Linked DNA regions of Homo sapiens: regions 1 and 3 are each linked to region 2. Evidence: promoter capture Hi-C in human tissues and cell types (Jung and others, 2019). All regions are on one chromosome and are shown on one strand. The core of a region is centred on a gene start or on the middle of the fragment in contact, and the rest is flanking DNA. Distances in the headings are between cores, read along the strand shown. Region 1 holds the start of HPGD (15-hydroxyprostaglandin dehydrogenase). Region 2 holds the start of SAP30 (Sin3A associated protein 30). Region 3 overlaps HPGD (15-hydroxyprostaglandin dehydrogenase).

Region 1 (2,500 bases), core at 1-2,500, 1.2 Mb before region 2:
TTTCCCAGTAAAGAAGGTAAAGAAGATATAAAAATGATTCATTCTGCTGTTAGTGTCAGTCTTTTGCTCAACTCCCATTTCCCCCAAGTATTTAGATTTTTTTTTTCTTTAAGAAAATAAATGCCAGCTGGGCATAGTGGCTCATGCCTGTAATCTTAGCACTCTTTGGGAGTCCAAGGTGGGAGGGTCGCTTGAGCCCTGGAGATTGAGGTTGCAGCGAGCTGGGATTATGCCACTGCATTCTAGCCAAACAGACAGAGCGAGATCTTGTCTCAAGATTAAAAAAAAAAAAAAAAAAAAAAAGCCAACCACTTACGTTTACAGAATTAAAATTGCAGCCTGCCGCTGACAACCTGAGAAAAAGAGACAAAGTCAGTGGAATAGCCCTTGTTATTTATGCAAGTCCGCATACAGCTAGCCCTGGAGTTCCTGGAGAGCAAGGAACCTCTGTCCCAAACTTGACTCAGAGCTTCCAAAGTTGGTGTATTTCAACAAGTAAGCATTCCATTGAGCCAACAATTTGGTAGGCTACCAGCGGCTCTGGAGCGCCTGTTGATGATGACAGTTTTTGTGGGGGCATCTCAATATGACACACAATTGACACTGACCAGAAACACAGCGCCAAGGACACTCTAGTCCTAGCCATGAAATGTTATGATTCCAGGTTTTCAGGACAGAGCAGAGTCCACTTCTCATCTCCAGTATCCGTAAAAATTTGTCCAAAATGTAACTAAGAAAACACAATGATATTAGTTACTTCTGCTCCCCGTCACCCTCAACCCCACTGATTACGAGATGGGAACTCACACAAAACTTTGAGACAAAAGAGCAACAAGTTTGCTTTATTGTTTGCTTGTTTTGTTCCGGAGTCGGGGCCGGGAGGGAGTGCAGGAGGAGGGATCCAAGCTTCCAAGCCTCTGCTCCGCTCTCCTTCTATCCAGTTGGTCTTTAGGGCACTGAAGGAAACTCTTCTTCAGAAATAACCTTTTAACTTTTCTTCTGTCAGCTGCCTGCCAATCACGGAGCCAGAGGCTGAGGGGAGGCTTTGAGCCGGTCTGCGAGTCCGGAAGGCAAAGATCGCGAAGCTTGGCGCTCCAGAACGCTCAGGGGGCAGGTGACACAGTCGTGGGTTCCCCGGCGGGCGCTGGCTTGACAGTTTCCTCCCCGCCCACTGGCAGGGGAGCGCCCCGCCGGGCTGCACGCGCGCGCGCGCAGGGGGGCATAAAAGCCGCGGCCGCGCGGAGACGCGGAGCTCGCCCACCGCCCGCCCCAGCAGTGGCTGCACCATGCACGTGAACGGCAAAGTGGCGCTGGTGACCGGCGCGGCTCAGGGCATAGGCAGAGCCTTTGCAGAGGCGCTGCTGCTTAAGGGCGCCAAGGTAAGCCCGGCGCCCAGCCGCGGAAATTTCTCTGCCCACACACTCCGAGACTCGCCCCGCCGCCCGAGGTGCACTGGCGGAGACAGGGAGGCCGCGCCCGGCGTGCCCACTTTGCCACTTCCAAAATTTGCTGAAGCTGAGGCTGTGAGCACACCTCAGAAGTGGCTGGGAGGGAACCCAAACCTAATTGCCAAATTTCAGGTCCAGGAGGGGAGCCTCTTGTGTGTTTATTGTTTGTCCGTCTATTTCGTGAGCTGCGCAGGCCCGCGATTCCTCTCCTCTTGTCTATAGGTAGCGCTGGTGGATTGGAATCTTGAAGCAGGTGTACAGTGTAAAGCTGCCCTGGATGAGCAGTTTGAACCTCAGAAGACTCTGTTCATCCAGTGCGATGTGGCTGACCAGCAACAACTGAGAGGTAAGACAGGGGAATCAATCTGTCAACTGGGAACGTGCTCTCAACAAGCAACAACCTGAAGGCAGCCCGGCCAGGGGGCCCTGGGTGCCGCCTCCGCTGCCTCCTCGAGAGCAGCTACCTTGAAGCTCCAAAAGACAGTTTGGACTGATACGTTTCCTTCTGACAGCCCAATAGCTGTAAAACCGAAAGAAAGGCAAGACTGCTGGAGAAATCCTTTTATTGTAGTCATTTGGCAGCATTAATGTAATCAAAATTCCTTTATGTATTCAAAGACAGTGCTGCTGCAGTAATTATTAAATGATTGAAATTGCAGACAAAACTTGGAAAATTAAAGTAGGTTAAGTAAGGTACTGTTGACAAACAACTTCTCCCAGAAAGCTGGAGTCCAATGACAATCAAATGTGGCAGTGTTTTTCGTTTAAACATATCAGAATACAAGTTCAAGGAGCATCATCACAGAAGTGCTAGATGCTTTTGACCATATGTTTTCTCCGGCTTTTTCCCCAATGAGACAGTACTTTAAAATAATAATAATAGTAATCATAATAAAGTATACAATGTTAGAATTGTAGTAGAAACATCTCTATCAGCCTTTCCTCAATGCTTTCCTGTTTCCGGCTACTCACTTAAAATAGACCAATCTACTTGTGAAGTATCAGGGACAATATTGGCATACACAATAAACAGCTTTGATTATAAAGCTGTT
Region 2 (2,700 bases), core at 92-2,591:
AAGCGCAAGATAAAAATATGCAGGACTTGTGGTAGGTTCTCGATACCATGTTATTCATTTACCGCTAGCCAGATCTCCCAAAAGTAGCAACGGCTGTTTCTAAAAACCTCATAGATGGTCAAACGAAAAGACGTGCAAAAAATCCTGATGGCTGCCAAGGGGATGGCAAAACCGCAGAGGCTACGTGCTCCCCACCATCGGAGTAGCTGCCCTCGGAGCTGACAGCGCAAACGCCGTTTACAACCCCGGCTCACTGCCAGGCGGCGGGTGAGCTCGGCTTCCCTCTCACTCCGCTCCGGAGGAGACGGAACACAGAAAAGAACAGGATCTTCCTTGTTCGTGAAGGTCCTCCGCTTTCTCCTAGACGACGGGATTTAGTACCGCCTGGGGCCAAACACCAGCTTGGGCAGCAAAACAAAGGCGCCTCCATTCCAGAAGAGCTGCCGGGCTGCAAGAAAACTACTCTGGGCCCTCAGTGCGCCGGTCCCCTTTGTTTCGTGTCCCGGTCGCAGAGGAGAAGGAAGAGGGAAGACTGCGCGGGAGAGACGCAGGCAGCGGGAGGTTGGGGGCCAGGGTGGGAAAGAAGAGGGGAACGACAGCCTGTGTGTGGTGTGTGTGTTGGGGTGGCGGTAGGAGTTGCAGCGACTTTGTTATTTGCTTCCAAACACAGACTCCACGAGACCGCACTGCAGCCAGTGCGGTTGTCTGGGGGACCCCGCCGACAACCCGTGCCTTTGCCCGGCTCCTGGGGCCCCACCGAGGGGCGGGAGGGCAGGGCGGTCCCGCGGTTTACTTACGCTCTTATCCAGCTCGATCTTCACCTTCTTCTGGGAGATGCTCTTCTGGATCCTCTTGCTGAAGCTGGCGTTGCCTGCCGCCCGGCCGCACCGCTCACCATCCTCCCGCAGGCAGCACAGTTGCCCGGGGCCCGGCCCGGCCGCCCCCGGGGGCCCAGCCGCTGAGACCGCCCCCGCGCCCGGCACCTCAGCCCCGGTGCCCGCGCCGGTCCCGTTCCCCGCCGAGGCGGCGGCGGCCGCGGCAGCGACCACTGCGGCCACTGCGGCGGCCGCATCCCCGCCGCGGCTCATCTCGTCAGGCGTGAAGCCGTTCATGTCTCCGAGCTCCCGAGGCCGGCGCTGACAGAAATCCCCTCTCTCCTGGCCGCTCCGCCTCTCTCCGCTCCGGCAGCGGCAATTCACTCTGCACACCAAGTTAGACAGCGGCACGGCCAAACACCAACTGTCCCGGGCCTGCTGGTCTCTGCTGGCACCGAAACAGTGGACAGTGCTGAGGGCCGGGACGCAGACTCGAGCGTCTCCTGGAGCGGGGACCCCGCTCACTGTCACATGGGGACTTCAGCAGTTGGACCGCTACGCCTCCGCCTCCCTCCGGCCCCGGGACCTGCGCAAGCGCGACGCGCCCCCTCCCGTCCCGCCCCTTTCTTTCTGCCGCGCGGCCCCATGGGAATTGTAGTTCTCTGCTGCAGAGTCAACCTGAGCTCCGCCCTGACCCCGCGCCATGAGGGACGGAGGAACTACTAATCCTAGCATGCATAGCGCGGCCACGGACCCACTTTTTTTTTTTTTTTTTTTTTTCAGTACCGGGAAAACAGGAGCGTGTGATTGGGGTTTACAGTGTTTTCTCTCGCTCTCTCTGTTTCTAGGGAATTCGGGCTGTGTTTAGCTGCTGGAATATCGTAGAATTGGTTTTCAGAGAAGTTCCTCGACTCCTGAGGCGAAACATAAAGGGATGGGAGTGGTGTGGGAAGTGATCGTGTGGGGAAAAAAAAGTTTCGAGCCCGTTTCGCATTTGTGGAGACAGAGTTTTTGGTGTGACCACTCTTTTGTGGGAAACCCAAACCAAGGAGAACTCAGGAGAATTGGCGCTCTTCGGTCCTGGAGGTTCCGCAGCTAACATCCCGGCTTGACCAACTATCGAGGCCGCAAATTAATAGGGCACCTCCTGGGAGGAAAACGCCCATCCTGACTTCTCAACTGTGACAGGTCCCCCTCACAAACGCCTTGCGGGGGGGTGGGGGGGCGTTTCTAAACACTTGCATGTTCTTACAAGGGAAATGTTTTTATTCTTGGGCGCACCAAGTTGGCCGCCTCCTGAGGTGGAGTACGGACCAGTTGACAACAGGGCTCCTTTTCACCTCCACGCCCAACCTTTTCCATTTCTCCTCAAACGGTTTTGGAGAAGGGCGGAGTCATATCATTTTAAAGGAAACTTGGAACCTCACCAATACAAACGCTGGTCGAATGTTCCCAGAAACTTCCCTGCATTAGCTCTACCGGGCGCGGGGAGCAGAAAGCGCATTTCCTGAGTCCTGAAAAGCGCGTGCGCGCCTGTGTGCTGCCGGCGTTTGGGCGCGCCTGCTTGTATGTATGTGTTCGCGGGCGCGCGCGTGTGTACGTGTGTGTGCGCGCGTACGCGTGTATGTTCCTGCGCGCTTGCGGGGACGTGCTTGTGGAGGGCGGAGAGAGGGATGGGCGTGGCTAATATGAAAGCTGCATCTTTACTAGTTAGCTACCATGCGTCATTATTTATCAAAAGATATATGCTGCTTAAACACAAATACGTTTTAAAATATATTTTAGGCAGTAGGGTTTTGGGTTTTTTTTTTGCAAGTTCTTTTGGTGAGTAAATTTAGTGATAAATGATTTTTTTTTCTTTTGAGACAGTTTGCTCTGTCGCCCA
Region 3 (2,700 bases), core at 201-2,700, 1.1 Mb before region 2:
AGTTGTAGGGGGTCTCTGGGTGGTTCATCTAGGTGAGACAAAGAGAGCAGCTAGAGAGATGAAGAGAAAAATATTAGTAATCAAAGAATTAGTAGGAGACAGAAAAAACAGATGCACAAATGTTAACTGTTCAGTCAAAATGGAAGATAAGTAGTTCTCACACTCTTAAATTGATTGGAAATTATTGCTTAATTTGCAAAGACATAATCTTCAGACAGACTTCTTATAAACACATAAAGCTCTCTTACAAAGCAAAGTAAACCTGAAAGACCAGAAATTTTATATTTAAAATTACAAGACTGGAAACTTCTACAGTCAATTCTCAGTATGCATGGTGGTTATGTTCCATGAAGTCACTTACAAACACTACATTAGTGACTACTGAACCATTGCTTTTAGGGGAAATAGAGGGTTAAGTTCCTGAAAGCCTCTGGTCACAAAACTCCAATCAACCAGTCAATACATAACCTTATTTTATGTGTATTCCTGTTTAAAGAACCTTATTTATCATAGGTTGTATGAACATTGAACTCATTACTAAAGCACTTATTACTCATGCCTGATCAAAATTTATCTAACACAAATATTTTCTGTACAGGACATCAGTCTTCTTACACTAAGGAACACTACACAGCACTTCTGCAGTGGGTTTGGCAGCCATTTTAAACAGCAGAATCACCAATAAAAAAGCACAAAATTAGAAAAACATGGCACGACAGAGTATAGTCTTACTTGACCTCAGCAGGAACATGCACATCGGTGACTCAAATTTCTCACTGCCCTGTGCATGTCCACAAATAACTACAAATGCTCCACAAGTATTGATTTCCAGGGTTACAAGTAAATTTTAGCAAGCAAATTTAACAAATTTGTTTATATGTAATCCATGAATAATGAGAATTGACTAATTTTTTAATAATTGCAAATAAAATCAATAGTTTGTAAATTAAGCCAAATAATGTTAGTCTGAAAATACTTAAATTGTCTTCCAGATAGGACAGATTATTAAGAGTGTCTTTAGAATCAAAGTTCTAAACATTTTCACTAAAAGTCTTTTTAATTAAGTATTATTTGTTATACAACCACCATATTTGAAATAACACTTGGGATATCGATTCTAAGTCTCAGCTACTTAGCTTCAGGCTCCTGCAGAGTTCAGTAGATAAGAGAAGCTTACATAATTGTTTCCAGGAGTTGTCCAGTAATACTGATTTTTAAAAAAAATTAATTAGGTGAGATTTTCAGGAATTAATACAATACTTTATGTATGTGTTATTTTACTATCTATTTACCAGTCATTGTTACATAGCTGGGAGGATATCTAATTAGTATTTTTTACATCAGAAAATTGTAAGATGCTTTAATGATCAGTTTGTCCTGTGCTATATGTTTATGAAACTGCTGAAACCTACAACCTTCTAATTGGCAGTTGGCTGCTAATCTTATGAACAGTGGTGTGAGACTGAATGCCATTTGTCCAGGCTTTGTTAACACAGCCATCCTTGAATCAATTGAAAAAGAAGAAAACATGGGACAATATATAGAATATAAGGATCATATCAAGGATATGATTAAATACTATGGAATTTTGGAGTAAGTAAAACTATGTCTATTTTCTTTTAAATGATGAAGCAAAGCATTATTTAGATAAGCTATAAAAAGGGAAGAAATAAGCTTATACAGTTGAGAAATGAACACAAGCTTCAAACTTTTGGTTTGGCAAACTCTCTGGGAGAAAATATATTTTTCTGGGTTTATAAATAGAATGTAAGTTTATACATTATGAATGTTACTTTGAAATATGTAAAATGCTTCATTACTACCATCAGTCATAAAGTTGATATTTAGTCACCTTTGAAGGCAATGATACCTTCTCTGCCTAAATTCCAAGCAATATTCAAATATAGTCTGTGAAATATTGCAAGTTTCCATGACTTCAACCACTTTTATAAGAAATAGTTGATACACACACATACATGGACACATACTTTCTCAGTGAATTATGTCTGAATTCAAGCAACTGAGGATTTCATGAATCATAGTTATCATGTTGAAGGAATCAGACCTGAGATCAAATCTTGGCTCTACCACTAACCATGAACTTACCCATCATACCTCTAGATGCTTCAATTTTCTCACATATAAAATAGAGATAATACAACAGACTTAGGGACTTTGAAAAACTTAAATAAAATGATACATACAAGGTACTTAAAATGGTAACTGGTAAAAAATAAAATTTTCAGTAAATGCTAGCTGTTACCAATCATATTTCTACACTAATAACATCTATATCTGGTAAGTCTAAGATCTACTGATACGATAAAGATGAGAAAATGATCATTTGCTCAGTGAAAATAATGAGTATAAATTCCTCCTGCCAAAATGATGGAAGGTTACAGCTAAATTTATCAAATAATTTAGTTAATATCCAATTGAAAGAAATCTAATTGAATAAATTAGATAAATAAGATATCTAATCTAGATATCTAATATGGAATTAAATAAAAATTGGAAGTAGCAATAGTTTAATGACACACATTTCCCTATAACATGTTCAACTTAATAGATTCTTCAGAAAATAACTTAAAATGAAGTGGTAATATGCCTCATTCTTTCGTTTCAAAATACTGTTTTCTTTATTTTTAGCCCACCATTGATTGCCAATGGATTGATAACACTCATTGAAGATGATGCTTT

The links. Contacts are between HindIII fragments. The study calls those that stand out against the background at their distance.
Region 1: the fragment with the promoter of HPGD here is called in contact with the fragment with the promoter of SAP30 in region 2 in 1 of the 25 tissues and cell types used here (mesenchymal stem cells).
Region 3: a fragment that was not itself captured here is called in contact with the fragment with the promoter of SAP30 in region 2 in 1 of the 25 tissues and cell types used here (mesendoderm cells).

The regions. Positions count from the first base shown.
Region 1 is chr4:174,521,238-174,523,737 of GRCh38, reverse strand. It overlaps HPGD (15-hydroxyprostaglandin dehydrogenase), which reads left to right and starts at 1,250. Exons shown (of 7, transcript NM_000860.6): 1 at 1,250-1,379; 2 at 1,671-1,794. The coding sequence starts at 1,287. It overlaps LOC105377548 (a long non-coding RNA gene), which reads right to left and starts at 1,125. Exons shown (of 7, transcript XR_007058492.1): 1 at 609-1,125; 2 at 317-353. The HindIII fragment of the contact is 5,489 bases long and covers 1-2,500 here.
Region 2 is chr4:173,369,595-173,372,294 of GRCh38, reverse strand. SAP30 (Sin3A associated protein 30) reads right to left here and starts at 1,341. Exons shown (of 4, transcript NM_003864.4): 1 at 798-1,341. The coding sequence starts at 1,112. It overlaps SAP30-DT (SAP30 divergent transcript), which reads left to right and starts at 1,597. Exons shown (of 4, transcript NR_183973.1): 1 at 1,597-2,003; 2 at 2,685-2,700. RefSeq lists enhancers at 231-530, 234-797, 1,881-2,120 and silencers at 651-1,030, 1,311-1,480. The HindIII fragment of the contact is 15,433 bases long and covers 1-2,700 here.
Region 3 is chr4:174,492,044-174,494,743 of GRCh38, reverse strand. HPGD (15-hydroxyprostaglandin dehydrogenase) reads left to right here. Exons shown (of 7, transcript NM_000860.6): 6 at 1,430-1,593; 7 at 2,650-2,700. Among named protein-coding and RNA genes, the nearest start is that of HPGD, 29 kb to the left of the region's middle. The HindIII fragment of the contact is 3,010 bases long and covers 1-2,700 here.